6 separate regions of the Homo sapiens genome follow, and regions 1, 3, 4, 5 and 6 are each linked to region 2. Evidence: promoter capture Hi-C in human tissues and cell types (Jung and others, 2019). All regions are on one chromosome and are shown on one strand. Each heading gives the region's core, a stretch centred on a gene start or on the middle of the fragment in contact. The rest is flanking DNA. Distances are from core to core; before and after follow the strand shown.

Region 1 (2,700 bases), core at 163-2,662, 160 kb after region 2:
ATATTGAAAGCCTGTGCTTTCCAACATATGGCTTCAATTTGCATTTCAATCAGAATATGGAAGTCATTACTCTGACATCTGAAACTGAGGTAGCAATAAAAAATTATCACTAACAGGACAGCAGACACAATTTATTTTGTGTTTATTACTGGGTGGCCCACTTGAAACTTTTCAGAAACTTAATTGATTCCAGATATTGGAAAATTATAATTAAATTATGACATTTATTTTAGATGCATTTAAATTAGCTGTCTTAATAGGATTGGTATAAATTGATTAATATCTATTAAGATTTATAGTATATATGTACAAACACACACACACACATACACACACACACACACAGACACACACATACATATAGTATAGGCATACCTCAAAGATATCATGGGTTTGGATCTAGACCACTGCAATAAAGTGAATACTGTAATAAAATGATTCACATGAATTATTTTTTGCTTTTCCAGTGCATATAAAAATCATGTTTACATTATATTGTAGTTTTATGTGCAAAGCATTATGGTTTGTTTTTTTTTTTGACATGAAATTTCACTCTGTCTCCCAGGATAGAGTGCAGTGGCGTGATCTCGGCTCACTGCAACCTCCGCCTTTTGGGTTCAAATGATTCTCCTGCCTCAGCCTCCTGAGTAGCTGGGATTACAGGCATGTGCCACCACACATGGCTAATTTTTGTATTTATGGTAGAGATGGGGTTTCACCATGTTGGTCAGGCTGGTCTCTAACTTCTGACCTCATGATCCACCTGCCTCGGCCTCCCAAAGTGCTGAGATTACAGGCGTGAGCCACCGCGCCCAGCCAAAGCATTATGTTTAAAACAAAGTACACACATTAATTAAAAAAAACTTATAGCTACAAGTTGATAGTGATATCAGGAATGATCAGGAAGTCATAATCTTTGGAAGGCCTTGCCCCAGTGTTGATGATTGCTAGTTAAGGTGGTAGTTGCTGAAGGTTGGCATGACTGTGCCAATTTTTTAATATAAGACAACAATGAAATTTGCCATATTGATTGACTCTTTCTTTCATGAAAGATCTCTCTGAAGCATGCAGTGCTGTTTGATAGCATTTCATCCACAGTACAATTTCTTTTAAAATTGGAGTCAATTCTCTCAAGCACTGCTGCTGCTTTCTCAATTAAGTTTATGTAATATTCTAAATTCTTTGTTGTCATTTCAATAATGTCCACAGCATAATCACCAGGAGTAAATTTCATTTCAAGAAACCTCTTTTTTTGCTCATTCATAAGAAAAAAACAGAACTCCTGATCTGTTCAAGATTTATCATGAGATTGGAGGCATTCAGTCACATCTTCCAGCTTCATTTCTAATTCTAGTTCTGTTGCTCTTTCAACCACATTTGCATTTACTTCCTTCACTGGTCTTGAACCCCTCTACGTCATCTATGAGGGTGAGAATCAGTGGCTTCCAAACTCCTGTTAATGTTGATATTTAGACCACCTCCCATGAATCACAAATGTCCTTAATGGCATGTAGAATGGTGAGTTCTTTCCAGAAGGTTTACAATTTGCTTTGCCCCAATCCATCAGAGGAATCATTCTCTCATCAATCACTCATAAAGCAACTATAGCTTTATGAAATAGTTGTAAGTAATAAGATTTGCAAGTTCAAACTACTCCTTGATCCATGGGCTGCAGAATGGATATTGTATTAGCAGGCATGAGAACAACATTAATCTTGTACATCCAACCTCTTGGGTGACCTGGTGTGTTGTCAATGAGTAGTAATATTTTGAAAGGAATTTTTTTTTTCTGAGTAGCAGGTCTCAGCAGTGGGCTTAAAATATTCAGTAAACCATGCTATAAACACGTGTGCTTTGTTGTTTCATTTATGGAACATGGGCAGAGTAGATTTAGGTAATTCTTAAGGGCCTTAGTATTGTCAGAATGGTAAATGGTCATTGGCTTAAACTTAAAGTCACCAGTTGTATGGAAAGTCAGTCTGTTCTCTAAAGGTTTGAAGCCAGGCATTGAGTTCTTTTCTCTAGCTGCGAAAGTCATAGATGACATCTTCTTCCAATGTAAGGCTCCTTTGTCTAAAATCTGTTGTTTAGTATAGCCACCTTCATCAACAATCTTGGCTAGATCTTCTGGATAACTTCCTGTAGCTTTTTTTTTTTCTTTTTTGAGACGGTGTGTCACACTGTTGCCCGGGCTGGAGTGCAATGACACGATCTCAGCTCACTGCAACCTCCACCTCCCGGGTTCAAGTGATCCTCCTGCCTTAGCCTCCCAAGTAGCTGGGATAACAGGTGCCTGCCACCATGCCCAGCTAATTTTTTGTATTTTTAGTACAGATGGGGTTTCACTATGTTGGCCAAGCTGCTCTCCTGACCTCATGATCCGCCCATCGTGACCTCCCAAAGTGCTGGGATTACAGGCGTGAGCCACCGTGCCCAGCCCTTCCTGTAGCTTCTATGTTAGCACTTGCTGCTTCACCTTGCATTTTTATGTTATGGAGATAGCTTCTTCCCTTAAATCTCATGAACCCACCTCTGCTAGCTTCACACTTCTGCAATTTCCTCACCTTTCTCAGCCTTCATAGAATTGAAGAGAGTTAGGGCCTTGCTCTGGATTAGGTTTTGGTGAAGGGAATGTTGTGGTTGGTTTAATCTTCTATTCAGACCACTAAAACTTTCTCTGTGTCAGCAATAAGGCTGTTT
Region 2 (2,700 bases), core at 61-2,560:
GCAGGATTATAATCACCCTGTATATGCAAATTCTTATTACTGTGGAATAAACATTTTCTCTATCATTAGATATGCTTTACATTTTTTAATGACTGCAAAAAAATTTCTTCCAATATACCAACCACCTTCCTGCAGCTTCTTCTCACCCTCCAAGCATTAAACGTGCCTTCAACTGTGAGGATAAGAAAGAACTCAAGCCAACCCAACCACTCCTTCATGCATGACCTCTAAAACGCTGCGGGACGTCGTGAGAAGGGGCTATTCAGCAGAAAAAGGTGCAGTAGTGTTTCATTTAATAACACCCCAAAAATAGTGGGGAGAAGGAAGTTCGGTGAAGGATGGTCTCCTTATCACTCCCTCCAAGTCTTAGCTGCAGCTGGCTCCCTCCCACTCGCCCACCGAGCAGTGGCGGCCAGAATCCTTGGCAGAGATAACCCTCAGCTCCACTGGGGTTAGGGGTCTGGGCCAGACATGGGTGGGCAAGAGAGAAAAACGGAAGGGCGGGGTGTAAGAGTGGGTTCTTTCCCAGGCCAGATGACTTACACAACGTTTTGGCTTCCAGTCCCTGAGAAAGTGGGGGTGGGGATGGAAATCACTTTTCCAGGAGAGCTGTCTCCTTCGGGCTAGGATGATCAACTTGGCATGGGCTCTGCAAAGTTAGTTTGGAGCGTCCCTCCCCAAGGGGTCCCGCCAGGGGTGGGGGTGGGGGCGCCCACCTGCAGCTGGCTGGAGCAGCCGTACTGGATGAGCGGTGTGAAAGTTGTCAGCTGCAGCTCGGCGTCCGTCTGCAGCTCGTGCCCAACCAGGTTGGGCATCTTGGTCACGTTGTAGCCGAGGTTCTGGCACATGGAGATGCGGATGGGGTCGCAGCGCCGCTCTTCCTCGTCCCCGAAGCCCCGCGCCGGCCCCAGGAGCAGCAGCAACTGCAGGAGCAACCCCAGACTGAGACCGACGCCCCCGGGCGCCCCCGGGACGCTCGGCCCTGCGCCCCGCCAGGCCATGGCCAGCATCGGGGGTAGCAGCGGCAGCGGCTGGGGCTGCTCTGGCAGACACCCCCAGTTTGCACGGGGGCGCCGGCTGCCCGCGCTGCTCCCAGCTCCCGGGACGGGAGTGTGATGCGGCGACGAGGGGGCAGCGGCCGGCTCTCCAGCAGCTGCGCGCGACTGTGTGGGATTTTAGACGTCCCGGGCCGAGGCCGAGGGACAGGCTGCGAGGGTCATGGCTGCAGGCGGCGAGCCCACAAGCCGGCGCCGGCCGCGTCCGTTCGGCGTCTCCGCGAGGCCAGCCAGCAGCCAGCGCTGCGCAGCTCTCACCGCCGGAGCCCTGCGCGGCGCTGGAGGCTCGCGGCGCGGCGGCGGGGCGGGACGGACAGCGGGCCTCTCCAATGGCCGGGCGCGGTGGGCAGCTAGGGGCGAGGCGGCGGGGCGGGGCCGCTCTCCCGCAGGAGGAGTCAGGCCCCCGCCCTCCGGCCCCCTCCTCCGGCCGCCCCTCCCTCCCTCCCTCCCCTAGCGCCCCGCCCCGCCCGCCTCCCGGCTCTTGCTTTCCTCCCACCCGGATCTAGGCGCGCAGGGGCCAAGCAGGGACGCAGCCCAGTGGCTCCAGCCACGCCGTCCTGCCCCCTTCTGCAGGTGAGAAGTGCGCCCTGTTCCATCTGCCCCCTTTCCTTCCTGTCTCCTTTCAGCTGTAACCTAGGCCGGTGGCCACCTCCCCGTCAGGCAGAGAAACGTACACAAAGAATTGGGGATTTGGATTTACACCGATTGTGGCTTTCAGTCCCGGTTGTGTGACCTTGAGCAAATTGCTCAACCCCTCGGCGTCAGTCTCCTCTGTAAAGTCACTTGGGAGGATTAGAGATAAAGTGTAGAAGGCTTAGCATGGTGCCTGGTACTGCGTGAGTCCACAGCTATTTTCACTCCGGACCAGCGGCGATCGGGGCCCGGCCTCTCCCCGCCCCCAGACTCGCCCGACCTGCGCAGGGAGCCGCCCACCTCCAGCCGCCAGCGGGGAGGCGCCCCAGAGCTGCGGAGCTGCAGACCCGCCGACGGTCTCGCGCTCTGATTTCCTCACCGTATGAAATGAAATTCCACAGGGGGATTCGAAAGGAAATGAGACCGGGACTCTCCGTGCTTCTCGGCCCGCCGCCCTTCCTGTCTCGGGGACACGGTTTCTAAATAAGGTTGGGAGGGTGAGAGGGCGGGAGGGGAGAGGCTTGACCTGTGCACTGGGGACGAGGAAGGCGCACAACCACCGTGACTCCTCTCTCCCGGCCTCCCGGGCACCCCCTCCCCACCAGGCTGCACCCCTTTTTTTCTTTGCTTCTGCTTCGGCTCCTAGGGATCTGGGGATCATGTGACCCAGGTTTGAACCCAACTTTCCTGTCTCATTACCAGCCCCCCGCGGCTTTGTGCTGGTCCACCCTCTCTCTGCTTTCCAGTCGGCCAGTAAACTCCCAGCAGGTGGATTCCTCCACCGTTTACTTGTTGCTTGACTGTGTTGAAGCTATGGTGCCTCTCTGAGCCTCAAAGTGGCCGGCTGTAAAGTGGGGAAGTTCATATCCACCTCACACAGTTGTTCTAAGAGTTCAGTGAGATAATACCTGTAAATCATTTAGCAGTGTCTGACACATAATAAATGCTGAAGAACTTGGTGATTGGGGTGTGTGTGTGTGTGTGTGTGTGTGTGTGTGTGTGTGTATGTGTT
Region 3 (2,711 bases), core at 64-2,563, 140 kb after region 2:
ATATATCATTATGGCCTCTGGTTCTTCACCTTTGTGTCATTGACGGGGTAAGTTGGCACAGTAGACAGTAGAGTATTCCTGGAAGCCACTCTTTTTTTTTTTTTCAAGACAGGGTCTGGCTCTGTCACCCAGGCTGGAGTGCGGCGGCATGATCTTGGCTCACTGCAACCTCTGCCTCCTGGGTTCAAACGATTCTCCTGCCTCAGTCCCCAGAGTAGTTGGGATTACAGGCGCACACTGCCATGCCTGGCTAATTTTTGTATTTCCAGTACAGACGGGGTTTCACCATGTTGGTCAGGCTGGTCTGGAACTCCTGACCTCAAGTGATCTGCCCGCCTCGGCCTCCCAAAGTGCTGGGATTACAGGCGTGAGCCACCGTGCCTGGTTGCCACTCTTTTAATGAGCCACTAGGAATCAATGTTCTATACCTAAAAGCAACTGGAAAGTAAATTAATGAATATATCATGCTAAACCCAAACTCAATATATCTTGCTAAACTCAACTCTACTAGCAAGCTGGATTCCAAAACCTAGTGCTGTTCATCACAAGGTGAAGTGTGACAGAGAAATCAGAATGTAAAATGATAGTAATCTTAACTATCTATGGTTAAAATACCTTACTTTTGCCAATGTTACCAAAGTGACTATGTGAACAGATTTTGTAGGGCTCTTTTCGAGGTTTGCAAGAAGCCTGTGGTTATGGGGGGGTCTTTATGTTTCTCTGGCTTCCTTTTACCACCACTGTCTGCTTCCTCATTCTCCACTTCAGCCACACTGCCCTCTCTGGTGTTGAGTGAGCATGACAAGCATGCTTTCTCTTCAGGACTTTGATACTTGCTGTTCGCTCTGTTTTGAGCTCTTATCGCTAGATATCTGCATGGCTTGCTGTTTCATTTCACTGAGACTGCTGAAATGTCACTGTTGTGAGGCCTTCCACATCTATCTCACATAGTAACAGTCACCCTTCATGTAACTTATACCCCTGCAGTCCCAAACCTCTGTATCTTTTTTTCATGGAGTTGATCAACATCTAACATGTATCTTTTTTGCTTATTATTTTATTGTCTGTCTTCCCACCTTGGAATTTAAGCTTCATGAATGTAGAGTTTTTGTGTGTTTTATACATTGCTGTATTAAGCCTAGAACAGTACCTAAAATGTACTTTGTGCCATAATTTGTTAAATGAATCATAGATGAATGTGTTTATTAACCCATCTATGCTGGAGGTTGCAAATTTTTTTTTTTTTTGTGAAAAATCAGACCTTGGCGATGACCTTGAGCAGTAGGAAAATAATAACTCCTGTAAGCTTAGCGTTCCAATAATGGAACACTAGGCATAAATGGGTTAAAGAGAAGGATTTATAGGAGACATACCAGATTAAACCTAGATGTTTATTTTAAAGCTTGTTTTAAATATTTTAGGTTGGTGCAAAAGTAATGGTGGTTTTGCTGTAATATTATTTACAAGTAAAACCTTGCTTTATTTGACTGCATTAATGTTGTATTTTAGATTAAAAGATACAAAGATTAAAAGTTGGTGATTGTGGTACATAGATGAAGTACATGACTTATTTTGAACTGCGTGTGAACACTCCTGTTTTGCCAGCTCATGGTGTTGTAATCAGAATCCAGAAAAATAAATAACTTGAAGAAATCATCTACTTTAAAATGATAAACTTAAATTATTAAGTGATAATAAATACTACAACCTGAAAAGAATCTAAAACAATTGATTAATCTTGGTTATAGATTATTTATATTGTATAACAAAGTATCTTATATATATATATATTTTTTTGAGATGGAATCTTGCTCTGTCGCCCAGGCTGCAGTGCAGTGGTGCCATGTCGGCTCACTGCAAGCTCCGCCTCCTGGGTTCATGCCATTCTCCTGCCTCAGCCTCCCAAGTAGCTGGGACTACAGGCACCCACCACCACGCCCGGCTAATTTTTTGTATTTTAAGTAGAGATGGGGTTTCACCATGTCAGCCAGGATGGTCTCGATCTCCTGACCTCGTGATCCGCCCGCCTCGGCCTCCCAAAGTGCTTGGATTACAGGTGTGAGCCACCGTGCCCAGCCAAATATCTTAAATTTTCTTAATGGCTTTGTTGTTGTGCTGCTTTTCTTATGTTTTCAAGAAAACTTTAAAGTATTATGCCTGCACGCTAGCATACATTTGAGTTTTAGTGTATTTTTTTAGACACTCACATGCTTTTCTATAGTAGCACACGCTGTGTACTTCAATACCCAAATACTGTGCGTATTCATACACTTATTTGAAAATTATAAGTAAACTTACTAAAACTTTTGTGTGTTGTCTGCTTTAGATTGTGAATTCCTGGGAAAGAGATCTTTGACTTTGATATTATTGATGTTGGAGAGCACACTTAAAATACTGTATTTAAAAAAAAATTAAAACTTTTATTTTGAAATAATTATAGATTCATATGCAATTATAAAAAATAATATAGGGATCCCATGTTCTCTTTACCCATTTTCCCCCAATGGTAGCATATCGCAAAACTATAATATAATATAATATCAAAACCAGAATATTTAATTGATACAGTCAGGATACAGAATATTTCCATCATAGCAACACCCACTTCTCTCCTGTTGTCACCCCTCCTTAACCCCTGTTCATGGTTTTTAGCTGTTATGAACAAAGCTGCTATAAATATTCATGTACAGATTTTCATGTTTTTATTGGTC
Region 4 (2,700 bases), core at 2-2,501, 220 kb after region 2:
GCTCACTAAAAATGTTATATAGTTTTATTATAAAGGGTACACATAAGACAAGGTTTGGAAGGGACCTGGACCTAAAGCTTCCATGCCCTCTCCCTGTAGAGTCAGGGTACATTACCCTCTCTGCATGTCAGTGTGTCCACCAAGCCTCAGTGTTCAGAGCTTTTATTGGGGTTTCAGTATATGGGTGTGATTGATTAAATTATTGGCCATGTGATTGAACTGTCTCCAGCTCCCCTCCTGTCCTTGGAGGTGCTGTTGGCCTAGAGTTCCAACCCTCTAATCATGTGTTTGGTTTTTTTGGTGACCAGTCCCTAGCTGGAAGCTATCACCATGAGCAACCTCATCAGCATAGCAAAGACAGTACTGTCACCTTGAAATTCCAAGGGTTTTTGAAGCCCTGTGCCAGGAACTAGGAACAAAGTCCAGATATATTTTTATTATGCCACAATCTAAACTCTCTTTTTCTGAAAATTTTATATACATGTAATTATACAATATATGCCCTTTTGAGTCTGCCTTCCTTTCCTTAACATAATGCGTTTTGTTTTTTTGAGATGGAGTCTCACTGTCTTCCCCAGGCTGGAGTGATTTCAGCTCCCTGCAGCCTCTGCCTCCCAGGTTCAAGGGATTCTCCTGCCTGAGTCTCCTGAGTAGCTGGGACTACAGGGGTGCACCATTACACCTGGCTAATTTTTGTATTTTTAGTAGAGACGGGATTTCACCATGTTGGCCAGGTAAGTCTTGAACTCCTGACCTCAAGTGATCTGCCTGTCTCGGCCTCCCAAATTGCTGGGATTATAGGTGTGAGCCACCATGCCTGTCCAACATAATGTTTTTGAGGTTCATTCATATCAGTACTTTTTTTTTCCCTTTTCATGACTGAATAGTATTCCATTGTTTGGATTACATTTTGTTTATGGACATATTAATTGACCATTTGGATTATTTCCAGTTTTCAGTTATGAAAATTGGAGAGAAGTCTTTGGGTTGACATATGTTTTAATTTCTCTTGGCTTGATACCTAAATGTAGAATTGTTAGGTCATAAGAATAATGCTTAAAAAAAAAGTAGTTCCATTTTACATTGCCACTTGGCAGTGTATGAGGGGTCCAGTTTGTCAGCATCCTTGCCAACATTTGGTATGATCAGACTATTTTATTATAGCCATTCTAGAAATGTATGGTAATTTTTATGGTAATTTTCATTTCCCTAATGACTAGTGATGTTGGACTTCTTTTCATAGTGCTTATTGGGCATTTGTATACATTTTGTGAAATGTCTATTAAATTTTCTTGCCCTTTTTTCATGGGGTTTATTGTCTTATTACTGAATTGCAGGAGGTGACTTTGAAAAGTTTTTCATTTTGGATCAAATCTTTTATTAAATATAGGATTTGGGAATATATTTTCCCAGATCGTGGCCTGTGTTTTCACTTTCTAAATAGTGCTTTTTGAAGACAAAATGTTCTAAATTTTGATGATGTTCCATTCATTAATTTTTTTTTCTGTTAGGAGCTATACTTTTGCTATCATATCCAAGAAATCTTTACCTAGTTGGGGGTCACAAAGATTTTCTCCTTTGTTTTTCATTTAGGTCTGTGATCTGTTTTGAGTTTACTTTTAAATATGGTGTGAGATACTCTGGTTTCTCTTCAGATCATATAAGTCTTTGTTTCATCTTTTAAATACGGTTTGAGGTGAAAATCCAAGTTCATTTTTTTTTAATTTTTTGCCTGTGTGTATTCAGTTGTACCAGCAGCATTTTTTGAAAAGTCTGTCTTTGCCCATTGAATTGCTTTGGCATCTTTGTTAAAAAACAGTTGACCATAAATATCAGGATTTATGTCTAGAATTTCTGTGGTTCTGATTCTACTAATATGGAGCAAGACTCTGTCCCGTGCATTCCAACTAAAAACCCTGGACAGAATACACAGCACAGCTGTTTGAGGTCTCTGAAGAGTAAATAATAGCAGGAGGTTCAGGATGCACTTCCAACCTGGAGATATGACTGATACTGGCAAGTTTTCTGTTTTTTTCTGTTGTTGTTGTTGTTGTTTTCTCTGCCCTTTTCCCCTTTCTTTTTCTCCCAGCTTGGACTCCAGGGCATCTTATTCTTGGTCTGCACAACAGATGCAGACAGAAGAATCCTCTTTTTCTCTGTTTATGGTCAGAGGACTGGAAAGAAGGGCCCCTGTGCGAAGGAGTCTGTGTGGAACATCACTGTTTTCTTTGTGTTTTGTATTCTGGTTTTTGTTTTACTTTTCTGGTGGGACCCCAAGTAAGCCTTAATCATGAGGCCGTTCCCCTGCAATGGTAGTGGTGGTGGCAATGGCAACTATGCAGGCATTTAAAACTCTGAAAGATAATCTTTTTCTTTGACCAGATAAACGGGAAAAACGGGCCCCTGTAGCCCAAAGAATGAGGGGAGAATATCTGTTAGTTTTTGCTTTTTTCCCCCCTTTCTTGCCACTTCTCCCCAAGGCAGATGCAGTTGCAGAAAGTATATGAGTGTGTGTGGAGGCAAAAACACCAGTTTTGTAGCCAGAGAATTAAGATAAGGGGTCTAGGAGACAGATAGTGTTGGGGAAATTATGGAGAGGCAGTAGGTAGAGAAAAAGATGACCTAAATCTGTGCATGAAGACCCAGACATCCCTAAGCTGAGCATGTGTGGAACTTTTTCAAGGAGATGAAATAAAAAGT
Region 5 (2,700 bases), core at 192-2,691, 180 kb after region 2:
TTTTTTCCTTTTAGACTGAGTCTCGCTCTGTCACCCAGGCTGGAGTGCAGTGGTATGATCTCAGCCCACTGCAACCCCCGCCTCCTGGGTTCAAGTGATTCTCCTGCCTCAGCCTTCCAAGTAGCTGGGATTACAGGTGCCCGCCACCACACCCGGCTAATTTTTGTATTTTTAATAGAGATGGGGTTTCACCATGTTGGCCAGGCTGGTCTCAAGCTCGTGACCTCAGGTGATCCGCCCGCCTTGGCCTCCCAAAGCGCTGGGATTACAGGTTTGAGCCACTGCGCCCAGCTCCAAATTGATTTCATTAATATGAAAAGCTAATGAATTATTTTTTCAGCATTTGAAATTGCTTTAATGTAGTTAAGGAAATATTTGTTCATACTTTGCTAAACCACATACCCCAATATAATCAGTAAATAAGCACTTACTTGACATAGTCCAAACAATGACTTACTCATTAGCTCTTACATCTTGCATTTATTCAATATTTTTTGAGTGTTTATCAGGTGTAAGTGGCAGAGGTATATTAGTGAAATAGAATCTATATTCTAGTGAGAATTGTAAATGAATAATTAGTTACTATATAGTATGATACATTGTGGCAGAAGAAGGATTCAGGTCTGACAACTTTTTGCTTGGACAAATGGTGGATGGGAACACAGGTGCAAGAGCACTCATCTGCAAGTAAAGGTGAGATTGGCAATGCTTGTTTGCCAACTTGCTGGTTTTTATATAGAGTACATATTTTTCTTCATGATCAAGTTAAGTGTATACTAGAGCAGTGGTTCTTAATTGGTGACATGTGGAATTTTGTATGGAATGCAGGGTTTTCATAACTTACTTATCTTGGATCCCCAGCGTACCTACGAGTATGACATGCAGGCTCTGTTTCATCTTTCCTGGATTATTCATCTCTAGTATTTATTACTGGCTTTAGTATTTCTGTTGCTTTCGGCAGCTTCCACCTCTGCTCCCAGTTTCTATGAATTTAAGAAGTTTATATGAATTTAAGATAAAATCTATCTCTAAAGCATATGAATTTCTTTCTAAAGCATCTGTGTCCTTCCTAAAAAATTTTTCATTAATGTAGTACCCAGATTTTTCCCAATGATAAGGGGGAGTTGAATTACCACTGAATTGAGAGCTACTTTTGGGTGGGACTGGGGAGGAGGGACAGGTAGTATTTTGAGAAAACAGCCTTATTTATATTTAATGAACTTCATGTATTTTAAGTTTACAGTTTGATGAGTTTTGGCAAATGTTTATAGTCATGTGACTATAAGCACAATCAAGATATAGAATATTTCTCTCTTCCTTAAAAAGCCCCTCTTTCCCCTTTGCGGTTTTCTCTTCCCATGTCCTAGATCCCAAGCAGTCACTTGTCTGCTCTCTGTCACTAAAATTTTGGCTTTTCTATAGCTCATATAAATGGATATATGTTTTCATTTATCTTGGGTAGATACCTAGGGATAGAATTGCTGGGCCTCATGGTAAGTATATGTTTAAATTTACAGGAAACTGACAAATTGTTTTCCAAACTGACTGTACCATTTTGCCTTCCCGCCAGCAATATATGAGAGTTCCAGTATCTCCATATTCTCACTATCACTTGGTATTGTCATTCTTTTTACTTGTTCTAGTGCATGTGGAGTGGTATCTTATTTTGGTTTTAATTTGCATTTTCCTACAGACTAATAATATTGAACATCTTTTTGTTGGCTTTGGCTATTCATAAATATTTGTGTGTGTGTATACATATGCACATATATTCATATATAGTATGTATATGATATATGTAGATTTTTTTGTTCAAGTATCTGTTGAAATCTTTTGATCATTTCAATTTTTTGGGTTGTGTAGCTTATTTTTGACTAGTAAGAGTTATTTATATATTTTGAATTTAAGTGCTTTGCCACATATATATTTGCAGATATTTTTTCAGAGTTTGTGGCTTACTTTTTCTTTCTTTCTTTTTTTTTGTGTTTGAGATGGAGCCTCACTCTGTCGCCCAGGCTGCAGTGCAATGGTGTGATCTCAGCTCATTGCAACCTCTACCTCCCAGGTTCAAGCAATTCTCCCGCCTCAGCCTCTGAAGTAGCTGGGACTACAGGTGCATGCCACCACGCCCGGCTAATTTTTTGTATTTTTAGTAGAGATGGGGTTTCACCCTGTTAGCCAGGATGGTCTCGATCTCCTGACCTCGTGATCCGCCTGCCATGGCCTCCCAAAGTGCTGGGATTACAGGTGTGAGCCACCACGCCCAGCTGCTTTTTCATTTTTTAAATTAAGTAATGGGCTATCATGGGCAAACAATTTGACTGCAAAGAGCAAAAGGTTTTTAATTTTGATTAGGCACATTTTATCAATGTATTAGTTGTTCTGCCTCCTTCTATTTATGTTATAGTTACAAAGGTAGTTTTAAAGGTCCCTGGTACAAGGAGAGGGAATATGTATGGGGGACAGTCAATGTCACATTTTAAGAAGCACATGTGGGATAGGATATATATTTTGGTGTGGGCATCTTTGGATGGTATAATCTGCAGTGATGAAATTTTTTCTTTAATATTTGTTTTTTTATCCCCAATGTAGTATATCTTTGCTCAAATCAAGATCATAAATGTTTTCTCCAGTGTTTTTCTTCCAGAAGTTTTATGTTTTGAGCTCTAACATTTAAGTCTGTGATTTATTTTGAGTTAG
Region 6 (2,700 bases), core at 126-2,625, 200 kb after region 2:
TCAGATTGTAGCAGAGAGAGATGTTTAAGTTTAGGGCCACTGACTGAGGAGATGAAAGGAAACCTCAAATCCATCTCCCTGTGGAATTTGGGGCTAGAGTTTTGAAGGCTTTTGGAGTGTGCCAGAGTTTGGAGATGGTTGGTTGGTCCAAGAGTGCAGGGTGAGATCATGGGACAGGGAGACAAAGGAACTGTATTCTCATGCTGATTTGGTTCCTCTTTGGGGATCTTTAAGTTGGTTGGTGTCAGCTGTTTTACTGGAATTCAGGATCTGTTTAAGTATTCCATATCTTGAATAAGCAAAAGCCTTATGATTCTAACATCAGAGACCCTATCTGTCTTAAAAAATGTCTTACAACCTTAGTGTCAGAAATTCTATCTATAGTAACAATGGGGATTCAAATGGACAGTATGTACTGTTTCTAGACTTTTTCTTACAAGGAAGTGGGTCAAAGTGCAGCTGATTTATGCTTAATTATAACTATATTTCTATTCAAAATTCTTGTTAAGCCTGTGAGGACAGTTTCATGGATTTCCAGTTTTTTAAAGTACTTTTGAAAAGATTGTCCTTTGTGCACTCAATAGTCTTATTACCCTGGTCAAATATCATTTGATCATATATGCAAGGTTTTATTTTTGGGTTCTCTGTTCTATTCCATTGTCTTAGATGTCCATCTTTATGATAGTACCACATATTTTTGATTACTGTAGGTTTGTAGTAAGTTTTAAATCCGAAAGTGAGTCCTTCAACTTTCTTCTTCTTTTTTCAAGTTTGTTTTGTTTATTTGGGGTCCCTTAACGTTCTATATGAATTTCAGGATGGATTTTTCTAGTTCTGCAACATGTGCCATTGGGATTTTAATAGGGATTGCATTGAATCTGTCGATCACTTTGGGTTGTATTGTCATCTTAATAATAAGTATTCCAAACCATGAGCACAGGATGTCTTTTTATTTATTTGTGTCTTCTTCAATTTCTTTCAGCAATGTTTTGTTGTCTTCAGATTACAAGTCTTTCACTTCCTTGTTTTATTTTTCCCTAGGAGTTTTTTTTTATGCTGTTGTAAATGGAATTGTTTTCTTAATTTCCTTTTCTGATTGTTCATTGTTAGTGTATAGTGAGCAATAACTATTTTGGTGTGTCACCTAATATATGACATTACTAAATTACTTTATCTCCTGTCTCTATATTAGTAGCAGATAAGTGATTTGAACTAAATTCAAATGGAAACTAAATTCAGAATAAATGATAACTTCCAAGTTGAATTTAAATGCTACATTTGAACTTAATTTTTGTTCATTAAACTAAGGTTTAAACTTGTCTAAGCAAACTAATTCGAAACTATAGTCCTGGAAGAATACCAGATTATCAAAATAACCATTTGAAACAATTAAGTTTGAGCTCTTAAAAGATTGTGATTATGATATTTCTGGGGTACAATTTATAACTTCTAGCTCTTATTGTGCCTTGTAGATGGTTCTCTAGTTGCGTTGCATTTCTTTTCTTTCTTTCTTTCTTTTGTTTTTTTTTTTTTTTAGACAGGGTCTCACTCTGTCATCTAGGCAGTGGCTCAATCATAGCTCACTGTAGCCTTGAACTCCTGGACTCAAGTGATCCTCTTGCCTGAGTAGCTAGGACTATAGGCATATACAACTTATTGATCGTTCTCTAGAAGTTGCTGGATATATAATAGTATTGAATGTTTTTCACATTTAGGGTGTGGGATATACAATTGAGGAGAGATTGTAGATCATATATTTTTGCTGTTTTTTTTTTTTAATTTACAGGCCACAGAAACACTATTCAGAATGGGTGTAGCAAGAGGAACCATCACAACATTAAGAAATGGAGAAGTAAGATGAGAATTTTGATATAGTTATTAGTTGTTAATTTATAGTTTGCGATTTTAAAATATAAAATGTGATGAAATCTATGATGCTTTGTCTAAGAAATAGAGAGATATCTGATGTATATAATATTGAGTGTACCTGATGAACAAATCCATTTTAATTCATAGTCATGTTGGAACCAGATCTTAGATTGAAAACAAATTACTGTCTTTTTACCTTTAGTTATCAAATATCTTTACTCTTAAAAAATGACATTTTATTAGTAACTTCTACAAATGTTTGTAATGAAAAAAAGAATTCCTTAGCTTTTGCTTTCTTTCTATTTTGTGTTATACAGAACTGATACTTATTTCTTAAGATAAAATAATCGGAAATGTTGAACATTTACTACACGTGGAGAGAAGGGAAGGAAGAGGGAGAGGGAGAGGGAGAAAAAAGCTGGAGAGGATTTTGTCTGCAGATGCTAAGTTTTGACTTTTTAAAATGCTCCTGTCAATCCTTTAGAAGATTTTTCTATCACCTCACATACATTTTCATGTTAAAATTATTACCAGCTTGATTACCACTTTGTCTGCTCTTTCTTTATTTTCTCCTTTACTAAGACAAATTTAGGTTGAGGTCGAATGTAACACCAAATTGTTATGTTCCTTTTTCTATTCTAATGGCAAATACTTAAGGATAAAATACAGAAATCCCTATTTTTGAGGAGATGGGGTCTTGCTATGTTGCTTAGGCTGGTCTTGAACTCCTGGCCTCAAGCGATTATCCTGCCTTTACCTCACAGAGTGCCGGCATTACAGGCATGAGCCACCATGCCTAGCCCTTAGAATTCCCTATTCTTGAATTAAGTT

What was found. Contacts are between HindIII fragments. The study calls those that stand out against the background at their distance.
Region 1: a contact is called between a fragment that was not itself captured here and the fragment with the promoter of FZD4 in region 2, in 2 of the 25 tissues and cell types used here (adrenal gland and heart right ventricle).
Region 3: a contact is called between a fragment that was not itself captured here and the fragment with the promoter of FZD4 in region 2, in 7 of the 25 tissues and cell types used here (H1 embryonic stem cells, bladder, heart left ventricle and 4 more).
Region 4: a contact is called between a fragment that was not itself captured here and the fragment with the promoter of FZD4 in region 2, in 1 of the 25 tissues and cell types used here (heart right ventricle).
Region 5: a fragment that was not itself captured here is called in contact with the fragment with the promoter of FZD4 in region 2 in 2 of the 25 tissues and cell types used here (heart right ventricle and thymus).
Region 6: a fragment that was not itself captured here is called in contact with the fragment with the promoter of FZD4 in region 2 in 3 of the 25 tissues and cell types used here (adrenal gland, bladder and thymus).

Annotation. Positions count from the first base shown.
Region 1 is chr11:87,116,303-87,119,002 of GRCh38, forward strand. All of the region lies in intron 4 of TMEM135 (transmembrane protein 135), which reads left to right. Among named protein-coding and RNA genes, the nearest start is that of TMEM135, 80 kb to the left of the region's middle. The HindIII fragment of the contact is 5,171 bases long and covers 1-2,700 here.
Region 2 is chr11:86,954,085-86,956,784 of GRCh38, forward strand. It overlaps FZD4 (frizzled class receptor 4), which reads right to left and starts at 1,311. Exons shown (of 2, transcript NM_012193.4): 1 at 717-1,311. The coding sequence starts at 1,001. It overlaps FZD4-DT (FZD4 divergent transcript), which reads left to right and starts at 1,537. Exons shown (of 3, transcript NR_038905.1): 1 at 1,537-1,628. RefSeq lists silencers at 989-1,038, 1,169-1,538, 1,889-2,038. The HindIII fragment of the contact is 8,131 bases long and covers 1-2,700 here.
Region 3 is chr11:87,096,910-87,099,620 of GRCh38, forward strand. The region is part of intron 4 of TMEM135 (transmembrane protein 135); the gene reads left to right. Among named protein-coding and RNA genes, the nearest start is that of TMEM135, 60 kb to the left of the region's middle. The HindIII fragment of the contact is 5,790 bases long and covers 1-2,711 here.
Region 4 is chr11:87,177,903-87,180,602 of GRCh38, forward strand. All of the region lies in intron 5 of TMEM135 (transmembrane protein 135), which reads left to right. Among named protein-coding and RNA genes, the nearest start is that of TMEM135, 140 kb to the left of the region's middle. The HindIII fragment of the contact is 5,072 bases long and covers 1-2,700 here.
Region 5 is chr11:87,138,098-87,140,797 of GRCh38, forward strand. The region is part of intron 4 of TMEM135 (transmembrane protein 135); the gene reads left to right. Among named protein-coding and RNA genes, the nearest start is that of TMEM135, 100 kb to the left of the region's middle. The HindIII fragment of the contact is 5,935 bases long and covers 1-2,700 here.
Region 6 is chr11:87,155,555-87,158,254 of GRCh38, forward strand. TMEM135 (transmembrane protein 135) reads left to right here. Exons shown (of 15, transcript NM_022918.4): 5 at 1,787-1,852. Among named protein-coding and RNA genes, the nearest start is that of TMEM135, 120 kb to the left of the region's middle. The HindIII fragment of the contact is 6,922 bases long and covers 1-2,700 here.